Regions from separate parts of the Homo sapiens genome. Here region 1 is linked to region 2. Evidence: promoter capture Hi-C in 16 types of primary human blood cells and fetal thymus (Javierre and others, 2016). All regions are on one chromosome and are shown on one strand. The core of a region is centred on a gene start or on the middle of the fragment in contact, and the rest is flanking DNA. Distances in the headings are between cores, read along the strand shown.

What was found. Contacts are between HindIII fragments. The CHiCAGO score rates a contact against its expected background, and 5 or more counts as called.
Region 1: a fragment that was not itself captured here is called in contact with the fragment with the promoter of SDHAF4 in region 2 in 1 of 17 cell types (total CD8 T cells); the score reaches 5.4 in total CD8 T cells.

The regions. Positions count from the first base shown.
Region 1 is chr6:69,667,626-69,674,764 of GRCh38, forward strand. LMBRD1 (LMBR1 domain containing 1) reads right to left here. Exons shown (of 16, transcript NM_018368.4): 16 at 6,385-7,139. Among named protein-coding and RNA genes, the nearest start is that of LMBRD1, 130 kb to the right of the region's middle. The HindIII fragment of the contact is 3,759 bases long and covers 1,985-5,743 here.
Region 2 is chr6:70,564,487-70,571,260 of GRCh38, forward strand. SDHAF4 (succinate dehydrogenase complex assembly factor 4) reads left to right here and starts at 2,444. Exons shown (of 3, transcript NM_145267.3): 1 at 2,444-2,518. The coding sequence starts at 2,455. RefSeq lists a silencer at 2,732-2,791. The HindIII fragment of the contact is 5,796 bases long and covers 1,745-6,774 here.

The sequences.
Region 1 (7,139 bases), core at 2,614-5,113, 900 kb before region 2:
ACTCGTTAGTTACTTAACCTAGGGTTAAGGTACAGGAAGACAAGCAATGAAGCAAAGTGAAAAAGGGGTTAAGGTGCATTTCTTAAAGGGTTTGAAGCCCTGATGGTTAAAGAGCATTATGAAATAAAGTTATCTTAGAAATAGTAACAATAGTAGCTAATAAATATTGAGTTTAACACTTCACAGGCACTATACTAAGCACTTTATACAAATTTAGTGCCCTCAATAGTCCCATGAACCGGTTAGTATTATTATCCCAATTTTGCAGATGAGGAAACTGCGGCACAAAGAGAAAAACCTCTTGTACTCAACAATTTTTAACCCTGGAGTCTCACTTATAATTCTCTTTAACCAAAAGAAAGAAATCGGTCACAAATATTAGAGGTGAAGGTCACTTAGAGATCAGTTTGTCCATCATTTCTCCAACTGGGTTCCATATGAGAAGATGTGGGATGAATGGATCCCCAAAGAAATCTGAAGATCAATGCGTATTCTGCTCACTCACTTTCTTGTTCAGCCACAATTTCTGAGTTGTTTGAATTATTTTACAAGTTCATATCACCTTTAAACTCAGAATAAAAGTTGTTTAGCCTTTAAAAAATTGTGAAATGTGCTAAAAGTGTTTGAAAAAAGTTCTTTCTCATTAACAATCTCCCAAGTTTGTATTTGTCTTTAGCCTACTTGTCTTTGTTCCATCAAGCTCAAACTACCTTAAGCAAAGTGATTAATGGAACAATTCAGGGGTTGGCATACTACAGCCAGGAAAACAAATCCAAGCATTTTATTTATTTATTTATCTTTATTTTTAAAGGGTTGTAAAAAGGAAAACAAAAAAAAAGGGTGGGGGGTGGGGGGACAGGGTCCTTGTGTGGTCGTGAAAGCCTATTTACTATCTGGCCCTTCATAGAAAATGTTCACAAACCTTGAGAATAATCAAACATTCTGAAATAGTAAGTACAACTTAAGGAGGTTTTACTTTGACAATGTAAGTATAAAAATGTTTTCTCTATTCCCATAGTGGAGTAACTAATTTACAGAACAATTAAGTGGCAAGTTAAAATCAGAATATTTACTAGTGATGTAACTAAGAATATTTAGTTTTGGTTATGAACAACTTTATTTTGCAAACTTAGGCATGCAAGAAATAGAATTTATGTCTGTAATGACTTAGTTTGTTTCTCATACCACTTAGGGAGCAGAAACTTAATGTCAGTTGATTTGGGGTTTCCCTTTTTCCCAGGGTTGAGTGTAATTTTGAGGGAGACATCTGGTTACCATGTTTCACATGTTTGTACTGCTGAAGCAGCCCCTACTCTTCTCCCGGGCTTCCCATCTGTCTCACCTCTAATGCAGCAGCCCTGCTTCCCAGTCACACAGCCCCCTAGTTACGCAGCCCCTAGTCACACAGCCCCCTAGTCACATAGCCCCTAGTCACACAGCCCCTTCAGGACGTTTCCCCACTGTTACTTCCTTGCCACTGTCTAAAGCCATTATAGTTTCACTAAACCAAAGCCAGATTCTTTCTGCTTAAAAGAATTTATTGCCTGTAATTTGGTTAGCATTTGCTTATCTCAAGAGTTTTGAGCCTTTCCTAAGCTCAAGGGAGTATCACTTTTAGCCTCACTGCATTCTCATTTATAGCATTTGTGACATTATAATTTTCTGAGTCTATTTGCCCCCCTGGCTTCGAAACACCTTTGAAAATAGGCACGATTTTGTGTTTTCATTTGTTTCTCCATTTTATAGCAGTTTCCAATACATACTAGGCACTCAAGTATTGGTTCAAGTGAATGAGTCACTAAATTCATTACAGAAGTCTTTTAAGGCTTGATTATATTTTGTCAGCATTGGAGTTACTGTATGCATCAGGGATAAACTTACATTTCCTTTAAATTACTCTTTTACTGGGAAGACTGGTCTTCCACAATGGAGATTTTGTGTGTGTATAAATATTTACTTATACACACACTTCAGGTTTTCAAAAAGCTTCAGGTAAATATAGTAGAAAGTGGAACTTAAACTGGTAAGCACAGTAGATATCAAGTTTGGTAGTGCTTTTCATTAAATATTAGAATAAGATCCAGAATAGAATCTAGTATATCATAGATGCTCCTGGGGAGCCACTGAATGAACTCTGAGCAAGTAAAAAAATAATTTCTTTTAGATACAAATTTTGTTTTGGTCAACAGAAACATCACCTCTTGATGTGGAAATGAGGTACTCTGAGTGCTTCCTAATTTCCCCAAGTGTTAACTTTGTTGTCTCCTTATCTGCTATCAAAAGTGTCTTCTAGGGCAACAGAAGACATTGCTTTACACACGTACTTGTCTTGAGCACTATCCAGCAGCTTCAGTGTAGAGCTGAAGCAGATATGAGCCTATGGGGGAACCACACAGAAAACTATATTCCTGACCATAAAGGCTTAGTTCTCCAGAGAAATGCTATCCTATCCCTAGGTTATAAGTTAATCTTTGTTTATGGACTCTGTTCTACAAAGAAAGTGTTCAAATTCCCTGTGAAATCACAGGTGAAGATTATGGGTGGTATTAGAAGTGCTTCTCGTGATTTTGCCAATGAGAAGAATAAGGTAGCCCCCAATAAAACTTACCAAATTAAAATATGCATGGAGAGGGAGAAAGGTCAGAAGAGTGACTTTCCTAGAACTGAGGTGTAGCTTAATCTATATGTACAAATCTAATAAAGTATGTCACTTGAGACTTAAACATAGCCAATATATGTGTTGAGAACTGTCCAAGGCAGCACAACTCAATCCGGGCAACTTGGGCAATCTGGTCCCCTTAGAGTGGTCTCTGCTGAAGAAGGGTGGATATTTAATCAAGCGTCATCACAAAATGCCTGAAATGCCCCTTGCTACCTATCTCACATCACTTCAATCCCACAGTCATCAAGTAACCTGCTGATTATGCTTCCAGGAGAGGATGTATTGTGGTTTGGAAATATGAAAATTCTGGTAATTGGAGTATCTTTGATTATAACTGTAACTTGATAAAGTGATTTCTTTTATGTATATTTATTCATCATATCAGACACATACAATCTTAGTAGATATTGACAAGGTCCAGTTACTACCAAAGGCCATTTGGCTACTAATTCCTACCTAGATCAAGTTCTGAAATGATGGGTCTTATCTTCTTTAACTGTAGAAATTCAGTAGCCGCGATCCAGTGCCTGAAATAACTACAAGTTTAGATGTTTGCTGAGTGAATAAGTTACATACACACAAAGCTAATCCATGTTGAGATTTCTTGATAGCCAAAATGATTTTCCTGGAGATCCCAAATTCTGTCTCCTTGCATATGGTCTTTCTATTTAAACTTTAGCAAAGACATTTGTTCGTTAACATTCTTTACATAATAATTCACAATGTAACTTCCTTCTAAATTTTGGTGCCAGAAAAAATTATCAGGAGGAAAACTGAGTGCTTCCTTCTATCAAATGTAAAATCTTCATTATCCATCATCTTTTTTCTCGGCTGCCAGAAAATTCCAAGACATATTTACATATAATCACAATGGCTATTATCTTCTGATAAAATTTCTCCTTTACGTATTTTTTATCTTTAATATATTTAAATATTGTCTACTGACTTCCTACAGTAAGAGAATTTCTTGAGACATTTTCTTCTTGCTTCTCTTTTATTCCATCTCCTAACATTGTTATACACATTGAGTAACTCTAATTTGAAAATCTGAAATCTGAAATGCTCCAAAATCTGAAATTTCTTTAGCATCAACATGATGCTTGAAGGAAATGCTCACTGAAGCATTACAGATTTCGTATTTTTTGATTAGGAATGCTCTACTGGTATGTATTCTGCACATATTCTAAAACAAAAAAACTCAAAATCCAAAACACTTCTGTTCCCAAGCATTTTGGATAAGGGATAATCAACCTGTATTACCATTTTAGATGCTGTATTGATTACCCCCATAGCTTTAATCAGCTGTAGGGGAGGAAAAAATCTTTTCTCTGTCCATTTTAGGAGCCCCAGCTGGGGCTCTGTAATAGAAGACAAATTAACAGGAGAAAAGCAAACAAATTAGTAAGAGTTGAATACTTCATATTGAATTGGACAAAGAGTAGTAAATTACAAAAATGTGGCAAGACAAAGGGGCTGGGGCCAGGGCAGAAAATGGTGGAACAGTAACTGGGAAAATGAGATATATTTTGCATGTTTGTCCCCTTCAAATCTCATGTTAAAATGTGATCCCCAGTGTTGGAGGAGGGGCCTGGTGGGGGGTGTTTTGGTCATGGAGGCACATCCCTCATGAGTAACCGGGTTTGGTGCTGTCCTAGTGGTAGTGAGTTCTCTATCAATTCATGCTAGAGCTGGTTGTTTAAAAGAGCCTGGAACCTCCTCTGCTTGCTCTCACCATGTGATACGTAGATTTCCCCTTCTACTTCCACCATAATTGTAAGGTTCCTGAGGCCTCACCAGAAGCAGATGCTGGCACCAGCTTGCTTGTATAGCCTGAAGAACAGTAAGCCAAATAAACTTTTTTCTTTGTAAATTACACAGACTCAGGTATTACTTTATAGCAACACAAATGGACTAATACAATAAGGGTTTCTTTAACAAGGTTGGTTTGTACAGGTTTTTCTCAGCCCTTATGACAAAAATTTAACTTTCCTTCTGGTATAGACAGGACATCTTCCATATGGGAGTTTTTATGTCCTGTTTTAGGAAGAAAAAGGGGTGGTCAAAGCATCCTTCTTGCATCTGCTGTTACAAGCTCAAAATAATTTGTATGCCAAAATGGCATATTTTGGGGTGGCATACTCTGCTACCCTTCAAGATATATAATCCCTCTACCAGAGACATATTTCTTAATTTCTCTCTTCTCCCCATCATCCCTCTCATAAAATGAGGATATCAACATGAACTCTTTTCCCCTTAGGTCTCTTTCCACCCCTCTTCTTCATTCTTCCAGGTTTTCACAACTGTCTTTTTATGTGGTCAAGGTCATACTTAAATTCTGTGCTGTAATCAGTGTTTACTGTGCTTTGCCTATGAAATGATTCTAAAACAGTATATTACTGAACTATGTACGTATCTTTCACTGAAGAGCTCGGTAGTATATTTGGAAAACATTATTTTCTGTATTGCTTTTTGCTTTCCTGAAGCTCCTGTGTTTCCTTTTCTTTTGCAATATGCATTTTTCATTTCCTTTGGTATGGTAGCACTGAGCTAGAAGTCAGTTCCAGGGTCCTCATTCTGCCAGTACCTTGTTGCATGGATGAATAATCACTTGTTTGAAGTTTACATGGAACATGACAGCCTTGGCCTTTTGGAAAGTTGTCACTTTAGATGATCTCTAATTTAGGTATTTTCCAGAAGGACTTCAAAGGAAATATGTTCTTCATTAGTGGAATTCATAACACAAATCAGCTTCATGAAAATGCAAAGTTAATAAAGGCATTCCACATGACTGGGAGGAAAAAAATACCTTAGTGTTAGAATAAAAGTAAACTTCTAAATATGTAGAAAGTTTATAGAATCTAGGATGAAAAAAATACATTTAAAAAATACAACTAACAAAATCAAAAGCTAAGAAGTTGGTCTGACAGAAACCAACAAAACATTACTAAAAGTAATGAAAAGTATATGGAGTATTCAAGACAAATACTTCTAACCTTGTAGGTTTCAAAATCAACCTCAAAAACAGGCTAAATATTCCTCCTTACTCAAAATAGTTTTTGTATGCTTAAACCATATAGACAAAGCTTAAGGCTTCTTTCTAACAAATTCACCTGTCAACTGAATACCTCCCATGTGTAAGAAGCTATTCTAGGCACCAAGGACAAAGTTGAAAAACCAGATGTTGTGTTTAAGTACTTAGAGTCTAGGCAATAAATCACAATATACCGTACAGGGTGACATGTGGATAGGGAGGAGCTAGCACCTGTGTGTGGGCAACCTGGGGGAGGAGGGACCTAGGGAGATAATGCTAAGGCTGAGACTTGAAGAATAAGGATTTTCTTAGAAGACAAAAGGAAGGGACAGGCATCAAAAGCAGAAGGAATAGTTCGACAGAGTGGGGATGTGAAGACTCATAGCCATGTGAATAATAGGAGCCATTTGTTAGCTGCCTCATATAACTGGTGTGGGGATGGCAGGGGAACTTGGAGTCAGAAGAGATGCACACCAGAAAGGCATTATCTATCCCATGAAGGCTTATGGAGTTCATTCTAAAATAACTGAAAGCTTTTTGCAGTAAAGAAATGAAATAATCAGATTTGTATTTTAAATGTTCAGAAAAGACTGAAAGGAGTCAAGACTTTGCAGAAAGCCCAGTGAGGAATTTCAAGAACCAGAGTTTATCAGTCTGCTTGGGCTGCCATCACAAAATGCCACAGACTCAGTGGCTTAAACAACAGAAATTTATTTTCTCACAGATCTGGAAGCTGGAACCTCAAGATTAAAGGGTTGACAACACTGGATTCTCCTGAGGCCTCTCCTGTTGGCTTGCAGACCACTGCCTTCTCATTGCATCCTCACATGGCCTCTTCTTTGTACATACACATTCTAGATGTCTCTCCCCCTTCTTATAAGAACACCAGTCATATTGGATTTGGGCTTCACGCAATAGCCTCATTTTACTTTAATTACTTTTAAAAGGCCCTATCTCCACATAAAGTATTATTCTATGAAGTACCAGGGGACAAGATTTCAACATATGAATTGTAAGGGGACACAATTCAGCCTATAACATAGAAAGTGGAGAAGAAGGGACAAATGGAAAGATAGGAAGTAGAAATTAACATGACATGATTGTTTGATGAGTCAGTTATACAGAAGAGATATGGAGATCTACCTGATTCTTTGTTTAGGCAATCAAGTGTCTGCGGTGCCATTTGTCAAAAAAATGAATGCAGAAGAAGGCTTAGTTTGCCCCCACAAAAGTGAATACTTCAATTTTCAAAATGTTACAGTTGAAGCAGTAATTTCTAGCTAAAAGATAACTCAAAGTTCAGAGCTTAAGAACAAGTAGTATAGATAGAAGCCAAGGGTATGTGAGATTGTCCACAAAGAAAATGTAATATAAGGCCGAGCGTGGTGGCTTATGCCTGTAATCCCAGCACTTTGGGAGGCCACTGTGGGTGGATCATGAGGTCAG
Region 2 (6,774 bases), core at 1,194-3,693:
TGGTCACTGCAGTTGGCGAGTAGTGGTAGTAGCCAATCAGTCATGGCAGAAGAAAGACGGTGTTAAAAGTACATGTATGTCTCCATTCTTGCCACCGTGGCTACCTTGTTACTGAGTCCACACCTGTTGTGGGGGAAGGAGGCTGAGTAATTGATGTCCACAGAATGGGTCACTGTTGCAGCCCTTGTGTAATCCCCTTTTGAGAGTGGCCGGGACCTAATAATAGGATACAGTGGAAGTGGTGGGATGTCGCTACCGAAATGAGATTACAGAAGTTCAGGGCTTCCATTTTGAGTGGTCTTTCTTGCTCCTTAGTTCATTTGTCCTGTGGAAAGCCAGCTGCCATGTTGCAAGATAGCCTTTGGAGAAGCCCACTTAACAAATAACTGAGAAGGTTTCCAGTCCAAAGTCCACAAGGAACCAAATCTTGCCAATAATCATGTGAATGAGCTTGGAAGCAGATCTTCCCTTAGTTGTGCATTTATACGAGACTGGGACTTCAGCCAACAGCTTGGCTGCAACCTCATTTAGGACCCAGAACCACAGTCACTCTGGCTTCTAGGTTACTGATCCACAAAAACTGTGAGAGAATAACTGTTTATTGCTTTAAGCCAATAAATTTTGGGATAATTTGTGAGGCAGCAATAGATAACTAATAATCTTGTTCTGATTAAGAGCCCTTCTGCAATGGAAGCTCTTTTTTTTTTTTTTTTTTTTAACGTTCAATAGGACCCAAATGTTTTCATGCTTTGGGACCACTTTGAGAGGTCCTATTCCAAAGACCCAGTCCAAAACTTTTACATTCCCAGTTCCCAGCCACTTGACAAACCAGTCACTGCCTATGAAATGTCGATTTTTATCTCAAGCCATGTCTCTTTTTAGGCAAAGCATACAAGATAAGCTAAATTCTGGCCAGGCACAGTGGCTCACACCTGTAATCCCAGCACTTTGGGAAGCTGAGAGGGGTGGATCCCTTGAGGCCAGGAGTTTGAAACCAGCCTGGTCAACATGGCGAAACCCTGTCTCTACTAAAAATAGAAAAATCAGCCAGGTGTGGTGACATGTGCCTGTAAAAACATAAAATACATAAATAAGCTAAATTATGCATGCTGGAAATAATTTTTTTTCCCTGTTCTGTTCCTTCAGGGCCTCTGTTAAGTGGGGCTCTAAATATGAAAAGCAGTCAGTTGCCAGCTGGGCCAGTTTATTGAGCAAAGCCATCATCCGACTTTGAATTTTTTCCTCAGTCAGCTAGTCACAAGGAATTCATTATTAAACTGTAGATATAAGCTAAAGGTCAAAAGCATGATATTAGGACTGTGAGCTCCCTACAAATGAAAACTGTTTCCGTTTTGACTTTGGCCCAGTTCTGTGTATCCCACTTTCTCTCTTTTTTCTTTTTCTGTTTTTGAGATGGAGTTTTGCTCTGTCTCCAAGGCTGGCGTGCAGTGGCGTGATCTCTGCTCACTGCAATCTCCGCCTCCCGAGTTCAAGCGATTCTTCTACCTCAGCCTCCCAAGTAGCTGGGATTACAGGAATGTGCCACCTCGCCCGGCTAATTTTTGTATTTTTAGTAGAGTGTTGGCCAGGCTGGTCTCGAACTCCTGACCTCAGGTAATCTACCCGCCTCGGCCTCCCAAAGTGTTCGGATTACAGGAGTGAGCCACCTTGCCCGGCCCACTTTCTCTTCGTAAAAGGATCTCCTTATCTAGGAGAACCAGATAATTCTCAGTTCATGATAAGAAGCTTCGATCGTATAACCACTTGATGTCACATGGTCAGACACTACCAAGGCGCAATAGCTAGCCAGAAACTTTTCTTTAAAAGAAAAGACAAAATTCCAGAATTCTGGGGGCCTTCACTATGATTCTGTAAATATTTCCACGAGTTGCACAAAGCATCCAGGTCTGCCACATCCACTCAACGCTATCAGAGCTGGTGGGATGTAAGGGTTAAGGGGCAGAGCTCATTGCACTGGATCCTGGCCTGGATGGAGAGCCTTTTCTTGCTTTGCACCTCATTCAAAAATGTCGCCTTTCATATCATCTGGTTAGTCGGTCAGAATGGACGAACTAGGAGCTGACTGAACAAAGATTTAAAACACAAAACAGGGAGAATTAGGTAAAAGAAGCATTTTACATGAGTGAGAGAGTAAAAGGTGCTCAATCTTTGTAAACTATAAAAGGGATCTTCCACGGGCCATTTCGGCTCAGACTGACAAGCATGAACGGAACGGAATTATTCCCTCTTCTAACTGCAGCCACGATTTGGCGTTTTAACACCGGGCTCAAGGTAGCCTGGGTCTCTCTTGGCCAAAGAGCCCAGGGATGCCTCTAACTCCTTTTCTAAAGCCGGCCACGGAGGCCCCGCCCTCTGCAGGGAGGCTCCGGATCATGCCCCCTGCTCCTCCCACTACTGCTTTGCGCCTGCGCGGAGGCTCGGGGAGTCGGCGCCATGACCCCATCGAGGCTTCCCTGGTTGCTTAGCTGGGTCTCGGCCACGGCGTGGAGAGCGGCAAGTAAGCACCTGGCCTCGGGGCCACGGTCGCGGGAGGGGTCGTGAAGGCCCAGGCGCAGAGAGAAGCGCCTCCCGCGGAGGAAGCCGCGTGTGTCCTGGCCGTTCGGTGTTGCCAGGGGCTGCCCAGCTTCTCCCGCCCAGCCGCCCACCCGGTGGCCTGGGCAGGTTCCTGCAGCGCCCCGGGTCTCGGGTGGGACTAGAGCGAGAAAATCGCTAAGGCCCTTTCAGCCCCCGGGACGTCCGCTTCCTACCGAGCACGCGGTGGCCCAACAGGACCACAAACGTTCCGGGTTGTTCCTGTGGGAGCTCGCAGGGCACACCGCACTTCGATGCCCCAGAGAAAAATGGAAAAGAAGGCCCTTTGGGAATGGGAGTCATTGATTTACTTATTTATTTACATCATTATTTACAGGAATCCGCGCTCCTGGTCCAGGCTCCAGCAGAAAAGGATTTGTGGCAGTTTACAGTTTATCTTTTAAAAATGGGAAAAGTGCAGAAGTGAGCCAAAGGCAAATAAGTATAACGTAAATTAGATGAAGCCAGGAATTGTCAGTACAGAAAAAGCATTCATGCTTTCAGTAAAACCAACATTTTTAAACCCATTGTTGTTGGAAATTTTTCTCAAGATAATACAGTTAGCAGCCCAGACTATGCAAAACATAATTTTATTTATTTATTTATTTATTTGTTTATTTATTTTGAGATGGAGTCTCGCTCTGTCCCTCAGGCTGGAGTGCAGTGGCGCAATCTCGGCTCACTGCAAGCTCTGCCTCCCAGGTTCACGCCATTCTCCTGCCTCAGCCTCCTGAGTAGCTGGGACTACAGGCGCCCGCCACCGTGCCTGACTAATTTTTTGTATTTTTAGTAGAGACGGGGTTTCACCGTGTTAGCCAGGATGGTCTCGATCTCCTGACCTTGTGATCCGCTCGCCTCGGCCTCCCAAAGTGCTGGGATTACAGGCGTGAGCCACCGCGCCCGGTCCGCAAAACATAATTTTAATATATGACACCTGGAGAAGTTATGTAAGTTGAAAACAGTAATTATTGCCCTCAAATGGTGCCAGATTTCTATGCAATTTGTTTTCCTTTGTGCAATCATTTTACCCAAATACAAACATTTTACTTAATTGTATAAGTTTTAAATAGTCCAGAAATGAATAATACAGAAAGTGAAAGTCCTACATTATCCAAACCTCAAGGTAATAACGTTAAAATTTTGTAGGGTTCATTCAACATCCCCCTTTAACTAGTTTTAAACAATTATGAATTATTCCATATATATATATGTATACACACACACACACGTAGCACACATGTAAGCTATGTAGCAGTCATGTAAGCTATGAAGCACAACCAGCATCTATGAACTTATACTCCAATTTAAGAAATAGTCTCTATTGCCAAGGAGGTCTCTATTTGCTGCTTCCTGATACAACTGTGCAATGGTGTTTTTAATCTTTATAGAAATGTTTTCATATTGTTGATTTTTTTTCAGATAACGCTGTGTTTTGTGATTGAGTCACATTGACGCATGAGGTTGTAGTTATTCATTCAACTGTGTGAACATATGATGCATTTTCCAGTGCCCTTCTCAAAGGACATTTGGGTAATTCCAGAAACACTAGGATTGGGTGCTACACATTCTTGTGTACCTTATTTGTGCATTAGTGGAAGGAGTAGAATTCCTGGAGTATGTTATAGGTCTTTTCATTGTTACAATATAATGCCAAGGTGTAACGGCATTTTCTAATTCTATAGCAATTTTCACTTCTACCAGCAGTGTATTGGAGTTCTGTTGTTCCACAAACTTGCCGAAACTTAATTTTGCCTTAGGTTTTAATTTTTGGCTGCCTACAGGGAAATGAAATGACACCTCATTGTGATTTTGCTTTTCTCTGATTAAAGAAGTAAAACATCTTTTCAAATATTCACTTTTTGTGAAATACCTCTTTCTTTTTTCTTTTTTTTTTTTTTTTTTTTTGAGGCGGAGTTTCGCTCTGTCGCCCGGGCTGGAGTGCAGTGGCGCGATCTCGACTCACTGCAAGCTCCGCCTCCTGGGTTCACGCCATTCTCCTGCCTCAGCCTCCCGTGTAGCTGGGACTACAGGCGCGCGCCACCACGCCCGGCTAATTTTTGTATTTTTAGTAGAGACGGGGTTTCACCGTGTTAGCCAGGATGGTCTCGATCTCCTGACCTCGTGATCCGCCCGTCTCGGCCTCCCAAAGTGCTGGGATTACAGGCGTGAGCCACCGCACCCGGCCTCTTTTTTCTTTCTTTGTTTTTGAGACGGAGTTTCACTCTTGTTGCCCAGGCTGGAGTGCAATGGCGAGATCTCAGCTCACTGCAACATCTGCCTCCTGAGTTCAAACGATTCTCCTGCCTCAGCCTCCCAAGTAGCTGGTATTACAGGCGCCCACCACCACACCCAGATAATTTTTTGTATTTTTGGTAGAGACAGGGTTTTGCCATGAACTCAGGTGATCTATCAGCCTCGGCCTACCGAAGTGTTGGGATTACAGGCGTGAGCTGCCACGCCCGGCCTTTTTTCTTAACAGATTGCTTCTTATTTATATTCTTTACATATATTTGTATGCTAAACCTTTTTTAGTTACGTAAGTGTCAAATACCTCAATTTGTGGTTTGTTTCTGTCACTGCTAGGCAGAATAGAATAACGGGTCTGCATGTGTAATCATGCAGCTTCAATATAAAAGGTATCTTAATAAACAGATGTTTATAATTTTATCTATAAAATTTTGTCTTGATCCTTTTGTTTATTGTGACTGCCTTGTGGTCTTGTCTAAGAAACCCTTCTGTACCCTAAAGTCATGGACATAATCTCTTATATTTTCTTCTCAAAGGTTTATAGTTTTGCTTTTCACATTTAAGCCTTTATTCTACCAGGAATTGATGGTTTGTATATGGTGTGAGGCAGGAAACCAGTTTTCATTTTTTTTCATATCAAACACTTGTCCCAGGTTCATGTATTTATAGGACCTTTCCCCTACTGATATAATGCGAGCCATCATAAATCAAGTTTACTTATACATATAGGCATACGTTTATTTCTTGGCTCTTTTCTCAGTCCCATTGACCTATTTGTCTATTCCTGTGCTGATACTACCTGTCTTGATAATTATAGCCATAACTTTGTTATAAATCTTACTATTTTCTGACTGTTGTTTATGTACAGAAACATGATGCTTAATGATTTTGTATCTAAATTACCTTATTAATTTAAATAATTTACTTTGCAGATTTTGGGGACTTTGCTGCATAGCCATTCATATCATCTGCAAATGGTGACAGTCTAGTTTCTCCCTGTCTAATCCTTTTTTTTGAGAAAGGGTCTTGCTCTGTCACCCAGGCTGGAGTGCAGTGGCGCAATCTCTGCTCACTGCAACCTCCACCTCCCGAAATCAAGTGATTCTCCTGCCTCAGCCTCCCGAGTAGCTGGGATTACTGGTGTGCACCACCATGCCCGGCTAATTTTTATATTTTTTTTAGAGATGGGGTTTTGCCATGTTAGCCAAGTGATCCTTGAGAGCCTCGGCCTCTCAAAGTCCTGGGATTACAGGCGAGAGCCACCGTGCCCCCCACCACCCTCCCTGTCTAATCCTTATATCTTTTTTCTTTCTTTGCTCAGATTTCCAGCACCATGTTGACTAGAAGTGTTGACAGCAAGCATACTTATCTTGTTTATGATTATAAAGGGAATGCATTTCTTTTTATCATTAAGGTGTGATATTGCAGTCATTTAGATAAAATTGCTACATTTTTTTTTAAGTCACCATCTCCTAATAACTTCTAAGGCATGTTTTATAAACGAATCCTCAGGGAAGAGTTCTAGCTATCTCCCAAATAATTCTGTTCTTTTAAACCAAAAAATCTCCGTCTTATGTTTTTGTTAAAACTCTTTATTTTGGATTTACATTTACTTACAGGATTTAATGATCCATAACTGTGGGTCTTCAGAGTCCAAGCCTTTGTGAAATAAAATTTCATGGAACATGAAAAAAAAAATATGGTATTAGCTACAGTTATACCCTTTTTGGGTTAAGGAAGTCTGTTTCTATGTAGAGTTTTGGGATTTTGTTTTGTTTTTGTTTATGTATTTGTATTTGTTTTTTAATGATGAATAAATCTTGAAGTTTACTTAATTGATTTTTCTTTGTCTTACTGAGGTGTTCTTCGTCTTACTGAGGTGTTTATCATTTTCTGCTTTAATCTGTTGAGGTGGTAAATTACAGATTTTTCTGA